Regions from separate parts of the Homo sapiens genome. Here regions 2 and 3 are each linked to region 1. Evidence: promoter capture Hi-C in human tissues and cell types (Jung and others, 2019). All regions are on one chromosome and are shown on one strand. Each heading gives the region's core, a stretch centred on a gene start or on the middle of the fragment in contact. The rest is flanking DNA. Distances are from core to core; before and after follow the strand shown.

Region 1 (2,634 bases), core at 1-2,500:
GCATGAGGAAAGCCCTACCTTACAGAGAACCTTGGCCATCTCAAAGGTGCCCACAGTATCCATATTGGCAGCAATGATGGGAACCCCAGAGTATGTCTGCTTTGAGTTCCGAAATGAAAAGGATCTTGTGAGATCCACCTGCAGATATGAACAGGAAATTGACCATTTCATTAATCCAAAAAACGTACCATATTAGGACAAGGACAGGCATCTTTCTTGGTTGTGGCCCACCGGGAGCGTGGGGTCAAGAAACAGCAAGTAGAGAAGCTTGCTCACCTCACTTCGAGACTTAAGGGTACTGCGTTTGGGCCTCAAAAGGACATCCTTGAAGTCCAGTTTCACATCGTTGTCAATATGAGGCATGGCGCTTAGCCTCGGGGTAGCGATGAATCTGAGGGCTGGAAGGCAGGAAGTCATAAGGACCAATCTTCCCCTGGGCTTTAACGCCCTGTTACGGCTGGTGGCCTCTCTTCGCTTAAGTTGTGGAAGGTCGGGCAAAGGCCGAAGTGTGGTCCCTGAAGCCTGTCACCTCGACCCATCCCGTGGCTGCGATTACCCTAGGGCTCCATCCCAGGTACTGTTTGTTGGGGAGGAGAGCTGGGAAAGGGTTGTGAGAGACCCTGACGGTGCATTCCTTACCCCGCTACACTTCCTTCTTCTACCCCTGCAAAGAGCAATGGGGCAAGAGGCTGATTTAGGGGAACGAAGGAATGTTGGCGACGGGGGGCGGGGAGGGTTCATAACTAGTTTCCGGAATAGAGGTACTCACTTCCTGTTGCCTTGGTCCAGGCGGCAGTTGACCAAAGACCACCTTGCTTAGCAACTAACCTCGTGCAATCCCGCTAAGCCTTCTGGGCCACGCCAACAGGTTCCTCTAGTTGCCGGCGAGAACTACTAGCCGACGAATTCCAGCTTCGGCGGCGGCAGGGCGAGGCCTTCTGGATAACAGAGTTCACGCACTGAGGTTGCTGTTGGATCCGAGGGGGTTAGACTACAACTCCCAGGGGGAAACGGGCGGGACCGCCTCCTGGCACGATGGGAGATGTAGTTCGTTCTGCCCCCACTTTTCGCTAGCCCGGGCTCGCCAGGGACTCTCAGAATCGCAGAGTCGTCATCTCTGCTGTTGCTAAACTGGATGCCTCATTCCAATTTACGACGTCACTGAACCGAAACGCGGGAGCAACCCTGAGCCTTTCCGGAACCCAGTGGGGGGGGGGGGGGGGGTGGAGCCAGACAGTGACCCGGAAGTAGAAGTGGCCCTTGCAGGCAAGAGTGCTGGAGGGCGGCAGCGGCGACCGGAGCGGTAGGAGCAGCAATTTATCCGTGTGCAGCCCCAAACTGGAAAGAAGATGCTAATTAAAGTGAAGGTGGGAGCACCTCCAGCCTTGCCAAGACGCAGTAGTACTGGGCTGGCAGCAGTGCCTTACGGGAGACGTGGGGAAGGAAAACCACGCCTTTCCCTAGCCTGGAGGACGCTGACTGCCTCAGGGCTCCGCGCGAGGGGTGGTGGGAAATAGGGGGACCCAGAAGGGCTTTGAGAGCGGGGCCCAGGTCCCACCTGACGACCCTGGGGTATTTTGCCATGCCTGCTTTTTTGCCAGGACTGTGCTATCACCCAGAATGGGGTCGCTTTTGTCGGGTCTCACTGTATTCGAACCCCCGCAGTCATAGAGAAGGCCTAGCAGCGGCTTGACTCCCCCGTCTCTCAGATTCTTGGAGTAAGCGCTGCTCTCCATTCTTCATTCCCAGGGTACCTGCTTCTCCCAGTCCCTAACGTAGGTCGCCTCCGAGCACAGCCCTAAAATCGGGGCCTCCCAAGGGCTAGACTATGAGCCTTTACTGGTGGTTGCCAAGGTGTGGTATCTCACCCGTCCTACAGGAACCAAAGCGGGGAGTGTGTTCAGTCAGTACCTGCCTTTCTGAGCCTGGCATCCTGGACCAGCCTCACTTCCTTGGCTGAGGCAGGTTAGTTACCGCTGCCCTAGTTCTTGCTACTAGCCATGGTTTCCTTCATCTGCATCTCTCAACTCCCGTGGTGGTTCTTCACCAATTTCCAGCCCTCGTTAGTCCTATCTGCTGTTTCCTCTTTTGTGCCTTCAGACAGACAGAGACCCCCCCCCCCACGCCCCCCTCAAAAAAACAAAACTGCTGACAAGTGAAGTCTAATGCTAGTTTGGCCTTTTTGTAGCTAAGTAAATCTATCGTTATTTCATCAGCTTCTTAGCATATTTACCGTACATAATAGTCATTCTTAACCTTCTCTTCCCCAGTCCTTCCAAACTACTTCTTAGCTAAGATTTGAGGTCTAGTATTAAAATAGTATGTTAAAGATGATTTTTTTTAACGTTGAGTAGCGGCCTATATAAGAGTCGTAACATCAATTTAATAGGTGAATGGGTCACTGGCGCCATTAAAAAGAGAAAATAGGCTGGGCGCGGTGGCTCACGCCTGTAATCCCAGCACTTTGGAAGGCCGAGGCAGGCCGATCGCTTGAGCCCAGGAGTTGGAGACCATCCTGGGCAACATGGCGAAACCCTGCCTGTACAATAAATTCAAAAAATTAGCCAAGGGTCTGGGCGCATGCCTGTAGGCCCAGCTATTCGGGAGGCCGAGATGGGAGGATTGATTGATCCT
Region 2 (2,634 bases), core at 59-2,558, 450 kb before region 1:
CTGTGACAGTAGTTAGTTAACACAGGAGTCATCTGTGTATGGGTAATGTATTTAAGGCCATAGAACTCAATGAGATTACATAGGGAATAAGCACAGATAAAGAGACAGACTGAGCCTGGGAAGAGGAGACTCCAGGAAAACAGACTGAGAAACCATGGACAAAGATGTTAGAAGGAAGCAGGAAAGAACCAGATGAGAGGCCAGTAAAAAAACAAACAAACAAACAAACGTGCTTTATGAAAGACAGCATAGTCCATAGTGTCAGACACTGCTGAGGAAAAGAAAAAGATACAGAAATGATACTAAATTTAGCAAGGAGGAGGATATTGATGACTTTAACAAAGATGATTTCCATTAATTGGTGGGAAACATAGATTGGCAAGAATTGGATAGAATATAAGTTGAAAAAATGAAGACAAAAATACACATTTTTTTTTATAAATTTTCATTAAAGGGAAGCAGAGACATGAAGAATTACCTGAAGGGAATGAAGAAGTTTACAGACTCCTGTCTCATTTTGTTTTCCAAATGAGAGATAGCACAGGATGTGTACATGTGGATGGGGAAATCCAGTAGAAAGCCATCATTTCAAGGTAAGAGGATGCACTAATTGATGCTCAGATGAGCAATGAATATACCATATTTAACATTAGAATTTTTATATTGATAGTGTTAGATCATATCATTGCCAAAAACACAAAGAAAGATATTAAAATACTGTCATGCCAGTTATTCTCTCCCCTTCAGTTCTCCGAGGACTGTGGGAGGGGCACCCACAAAGAATAAAACAAATAAGAATTAAAATATCCTGTACTGATGGTGTACAAGTGCCCCAAAACTCCAGGTCAAAGTCCTAATAATGGTTGACTAAGACCCTACAGCTCAACCTTCTTGTCCAAGTCCTGAATCCAATTAATGGGATTTTATCCTCTCTAGGTAACTGCAGAAAGGGCAACTGAAGAGAGTGATCAGTCCTGAATTCACTTTCATACCCCCATGGGATGAAAGAGAGAGCAAGGGAGCAGGGGCTGTGTTTGTGTTTCTTATGCCACAATAAGAAACTGCTCATATACTCAATGTCTTGAGCTCCAATAATTCACATGATTCTTCATCCCCGGCAGAGGTGTTGGCAAAAGCTAGCAAAGTGTGAGTAAAGTTGGTCATGCAGTGGCAAGTTCTCCTTACCCTATGTTGGGAGTTGGTAGGTGATTGTGCTATTCTCCATGGACAACTCATTCATATTTAACTGGGAACCTCTGAACAAAATATCCTAATCCAAAGGCATGGCCTTCTATAGTGTAAATTCTAGACATCAAGGCACAGTACTCCTAAGTCCTCTATTTCTCTAGCAGTAAAGCTGGTTCATGCAAAGCTCAGTCTCCCCTGGGGGCCCTTGCATGTCCATCATACACAGGTTATTTACTATAAAACCTCTAGAAAAATCCCTTATGAGGTCTGTTCCTTCCTTCCTAGGATATTCAAATGGACATTCTCTTTCCAAACAGCCCATAACTATCAAATCACTTGATTTTTAGTGCAAAGAAAGAACAATTGCACCAGAATCCGGTGACCATGCTTTTTGGGTAGCTCACAGAGAATTTCATAATTCAGAATTAATTAGGCAGTGAGCAAGAACAAGAGGCATATTTTGGTGTATTAATTCATGCCAAGTTCAAACTCATTCCATCTCTGTTGCCCGGTGTGAATAATTATGCCATTAATCCCAGGCAGGAGGAGAGCTATTGTGACTACAACACATTTCTAAAGCAAATAAAGAAAAATGTCACTTCTCCCTTTCAACTAATGCTCTGAATACAGCTACATAATAATAATAGTCATTTATTTATAGGGCATAAATTCCCTAGGGCTCAATAAGCCACAGGATAAGCAAAATGCCAGTTAAAGAGAAAAAAAACAGAACTTTTCCAGTTATTAATAATTCTGAAACAAAGCACTTGTTGGGGAGAATGACCAAGAGGAGAAACTGAAAATTTAAGGAGAGCTTGGAAAAGGGCTCAAAGAAAGAGACAGTTGTGTGGCTTTTTCATTTTCTTCTCCCCTCCTGTTACATACTGCTCCCACTGTGACTCAGAGGGCCAGCTGTCTGGGGAAGAAAAATTTGACACATTTTTTAGGTTGGTGCAAAAGTAATGGCAAAAACCACAATAACTTTTGCACCAACCTAATAATCAGCCCTGAATGTCACCCTGATGCTACACACCCTTTGCTGTGAAAGCAAAATAGGTCGACCTGCCCCCTTCCCCATTTCTGAATTCCTTTCCAACTCACAGATGGCTTATTGAGCATAGAAGTATTGGAGGATCAGTGTGGTTTCCCATCCAGCCTCTCTTATGAGGGTCAGAAATGCATGGGGAGTAGCAGTCAAGAGGGTGCCCTATGTGCGTCATTTCCAGCTTCACAATGTTGAAGAGGAGATTGGGGATAGACAGAGGAGTGGCACTATGCAGAAGCAGTTCTACATTTTTCTACATTTCCTCTGAGACAGAAGGAATAGGGTCGAGGCCCACCAGGCAGGAGCCCTGAGTGCCAGAGGTCACAGAAGCAGTGGGGATCAGTCCACACTGCCCTGACACTGGCCCTTCTGCAGAGAGGTGGTGGCTGCTCTGGGTTCAC
Region 3 (2,634 bases), core at 1-2,500, 260 kb after region 1:
ATGCTGCCTTGTTATTCTTTACTCCACCGACATGTTTGGGTGGAGAGAAACATAAATCTGGCTTACGTGCACGTCCAGTCATAGTACCTTCCCTTGAACTGAATTATGATGTAGATTCTATTGCTCACGTTTGTTGCTGACCTTCTCCTTATTATCACCCTGCCCTCCTACTACATTCCTTTTTACTGAAATAATGACGATAATAATCAATAAAAACTGAGGGAATTCAGAGACCGGTGCCGGTGCAGGTCCTTGGTATGCTGAGCGCCGGTCCCCTGGACTCACTGTTGTTTCTCTATACTTTGTCTCTGTGTCTTATTTCTCTTTCTCAGTCTCTTGTCCCACCTGACTAGAAATACCCACAGGTGTGGAGGGGCAAGCCACCCCTTCAAGCAGTAGCAACCCGCTTGGGTCCCCTTCCACACTGTGGAAGCTTTGTTCTTTCACTCTTTGCAATAAATCTTGCTGCTGCTCACTCTTTGGGTCCACACTGCCTTTATGAGCTGTAACACTCACCGTGAAGGTCTGCAGCTTCACTCCTGAGGCCAGTGAGGCCACGAACCCACCAGGAGGAATGAACAACTCCAGACAGGAGGAACGAACAACTCCAGACATGCTGCCTTAAGAGCTGTAACACTCACTGCGAAGGTCCGCAGCTTCACTCCTGAAGCCAGCAAGACCACGAACCCACCAGAAGGAAGAAACTCTGAACATGTCTGAACATCAGAAGGAACAAACTCCAGACACGCTGCCTTTAAGAACTGTAACACTCACCGCGAGGGTCCGCAGCTTCATTCTTGAAGTCAGTGAGACCAAGAACCCACCAATTCCAGACATACCTTCATTTTGGGCCTATGTGTGTCTTTGCATGTGAGATGGGTCTCCTGAATACAGCACACCATATGGGTCTTGATTCTTTATCCAATTTGCCAGTCTGTGTCTTTTAATTGGGGCATTTATCCCATTTACATTGAAGGTTAGTATTGTTATATGTGAATTTGATCCTGTCATGACGTTAGCTGGTTATTTTGCCCATTAATTGATGCAGTTTCTTCATAGCATCAATGGTCTTTACAATTTCGTATGTTTTTGCAGTGGCTGGTACCCGTTGTTCCTTTCCATGTTTAGTGCTTCCTTCAGGAGCTCTTATTGTAAGGCAGGCCTGGTGGTGACAAAATCTCTCAGCATCTCCTTGTCTGCAAAGGATTTTATTTCTCATTCACATACGAAGCTTAGTTTGGCTGGATATGAAATTCTAGTTTCAAAAATCTTTTCTTTCAGAATGTTGAATATTGGTCCCAACTCTTTTCTGGTTTGTATGGTTTCTGCTGAGAGATCTGCTGTTAGTCTGATGGGCTTCCCTTTGTTGGTCACCCAACCTTTCTCTCTGGCTGCCCTTAACCTTGCTGAGTCTGACAATTATGTGTCTTGGGGTTGCTCTTCTCAAGGAGTATCTTTGTGATGTTCTCTGTATTTCCTGAATTTGAATGTTTCTTTTTTATTTTTTTGTCTCTAATCTTGTCTTCTCACTTTATTTCATTAATTTTATCTTCAATCACTGATATCCTTTCTTCCACTTGATTGAATCAGCTATTGAAGCTTGTGTATCCTTCATGAAGTTCTTGTACTGTGGTTATCAGCTCCATCAGGTCATTTAAGCTCTTCTCTACATTCTTCATTCTAGTTAGCCATTCGTTTAACCTTTTTTTGAAGGTTTTTAGCTTCCTTGTAATGGGTTAGAACATGTTCCTTTAGCTGGGAGTAGTTTGTTATTACTGACCTTCTGAAGCTTAACTTCTGTCAAGTTATCAAACTTATTCTCCATCCAGTTTTGTTCCCTTGCTGGTGAGGACTTGTATTCCTTTGGAAGAGAAGAGACGTTCTGGTTTCTGGAAGTTTCAGCATTTCTGCTCTGGTTTCTCTCCATCTTTGTGGTTTTATCTACCTTTGGTCTTTGATGTTGGTGACCTATGGATGGGGTTTTAGTGTGGATGTCCTTTGCTATTCTGATGTTGATGCTGTCCTTTGCTGATGTTGATGCTATTCCTTTCTGTTTGTTAGTTTTCCTTCTAACAGGCCCCTCAGCTGCAGGTCTTTGGGGGTTTGCTGGAAGTCCATTCCAGACCTTATTTTCTTGGGTATCAGTAGAGGAGGCTGCAGAACAGCAAATATTGCTGCCTGATCCTTCTTCTGGAAGCTTTGTTCCACAGGGGCACCCACCTGTATGAGGTGTCTCTCCGCCCCTACTGGTCGGTGTTTTTCAGTCAAGCTACATGGGGGTCAGGGACCCACTCGGGGAGGCAGTCTGTCCGTTATCGGAGCACGAACTCCGTGCTGGGAGAACCACTGCTGTCTTTAGAGATGTCAGGCAAGGACACTGAAGTCTGCAGAAGCTGTCCGCTGCCTTTTGTTCAGATATGCCCTGGCCCCTGAGGTGGAATCTGGAGAGGCAGTAGGCCTTGCTGAGCTGCGGTGGGTTCCGCCCAGTTAGAGCTTCCCTGCAGCTTTGTTTACACTGTGATCATAGAACGCCTACTGAAGCCTTAGCAATGGAGGACTTCCCTCCCCCACGGCCCCGTTAACTGATGCAGTTTCGGCCCCCCGCCCCCCACCGCCCTCTCCACCCTACCTGTC

Evidence for each region. Contacts are between HindIII fragments. The study calls those that stand out against the background at their distance.
Region 2: a fragment that was not itself captured here is called in contact with the fragment with the promoter of NEDD8 in region 1 in 1 of the 25 tissues and cell types used here (spleen).
Region 3: a fragment that was not itself captured here is called in contact with the fragment with the promoter of NEDD8 in region 1 in 1 of the 25 tissues and cell types used here (spleen).

The regions. Positions count from the first base shown.
Region 1 is chr14:24,230,983-24,233,616 of GRCh38, reverse strand. NEDD8 (NEDD8 ubiquitin like modifier) reads left to right here and starts at 1,250. Exons shown (of 4, transcript NM_006156.3): 1 at 1,250-1,367. The coding sequence starts at 1,350. NEDD8-MDP1 (NEDD8-MDP1 readthrough) reads left to right here and starts at 1,250. Exons shown (of 7, transcript NM_001199823.3): 1 at 1,250-1,367. The coding sequence starts at 1,350. GMPR2 (guanosine monophosphate reductase 2) reads right to left here and starts at 688. Exons shown (of 10, transcript NM_001002002.3): 1 at 640-688; 2 at 277-398; 3 at 19-138. The coding sequence starts at 363. RefSeq lists enhancers at 1,060-1,354, 521-1,386. The HindIII fragment of the contact is 8,372 bases long and covers 1-1,707 here.
Region 2 is chr14:24,680,744-24,683,377 of GRCh38, reverse strand. No RefSeq gene overlaps it. Among named protein-coding and RNA genes, the nearest start is that of GZMB, 48 kb to the right of the region's middle. The HindIII fragment of the contact is 5,312 bases long and covers 1-2,634 here.
Region 3 is chr14:23,970,328-23,972,961 of GRCh38, reverse strand. It overlaps a transcript of DHRS4L2 not described here. Among named protein-coding and RNA genes, the nearest start is that of DHRS4-AS1, 17 kb to the right of the region's middle. The HindIII fragment of the contact is 4,031 bases long and covers 1-2,634 here.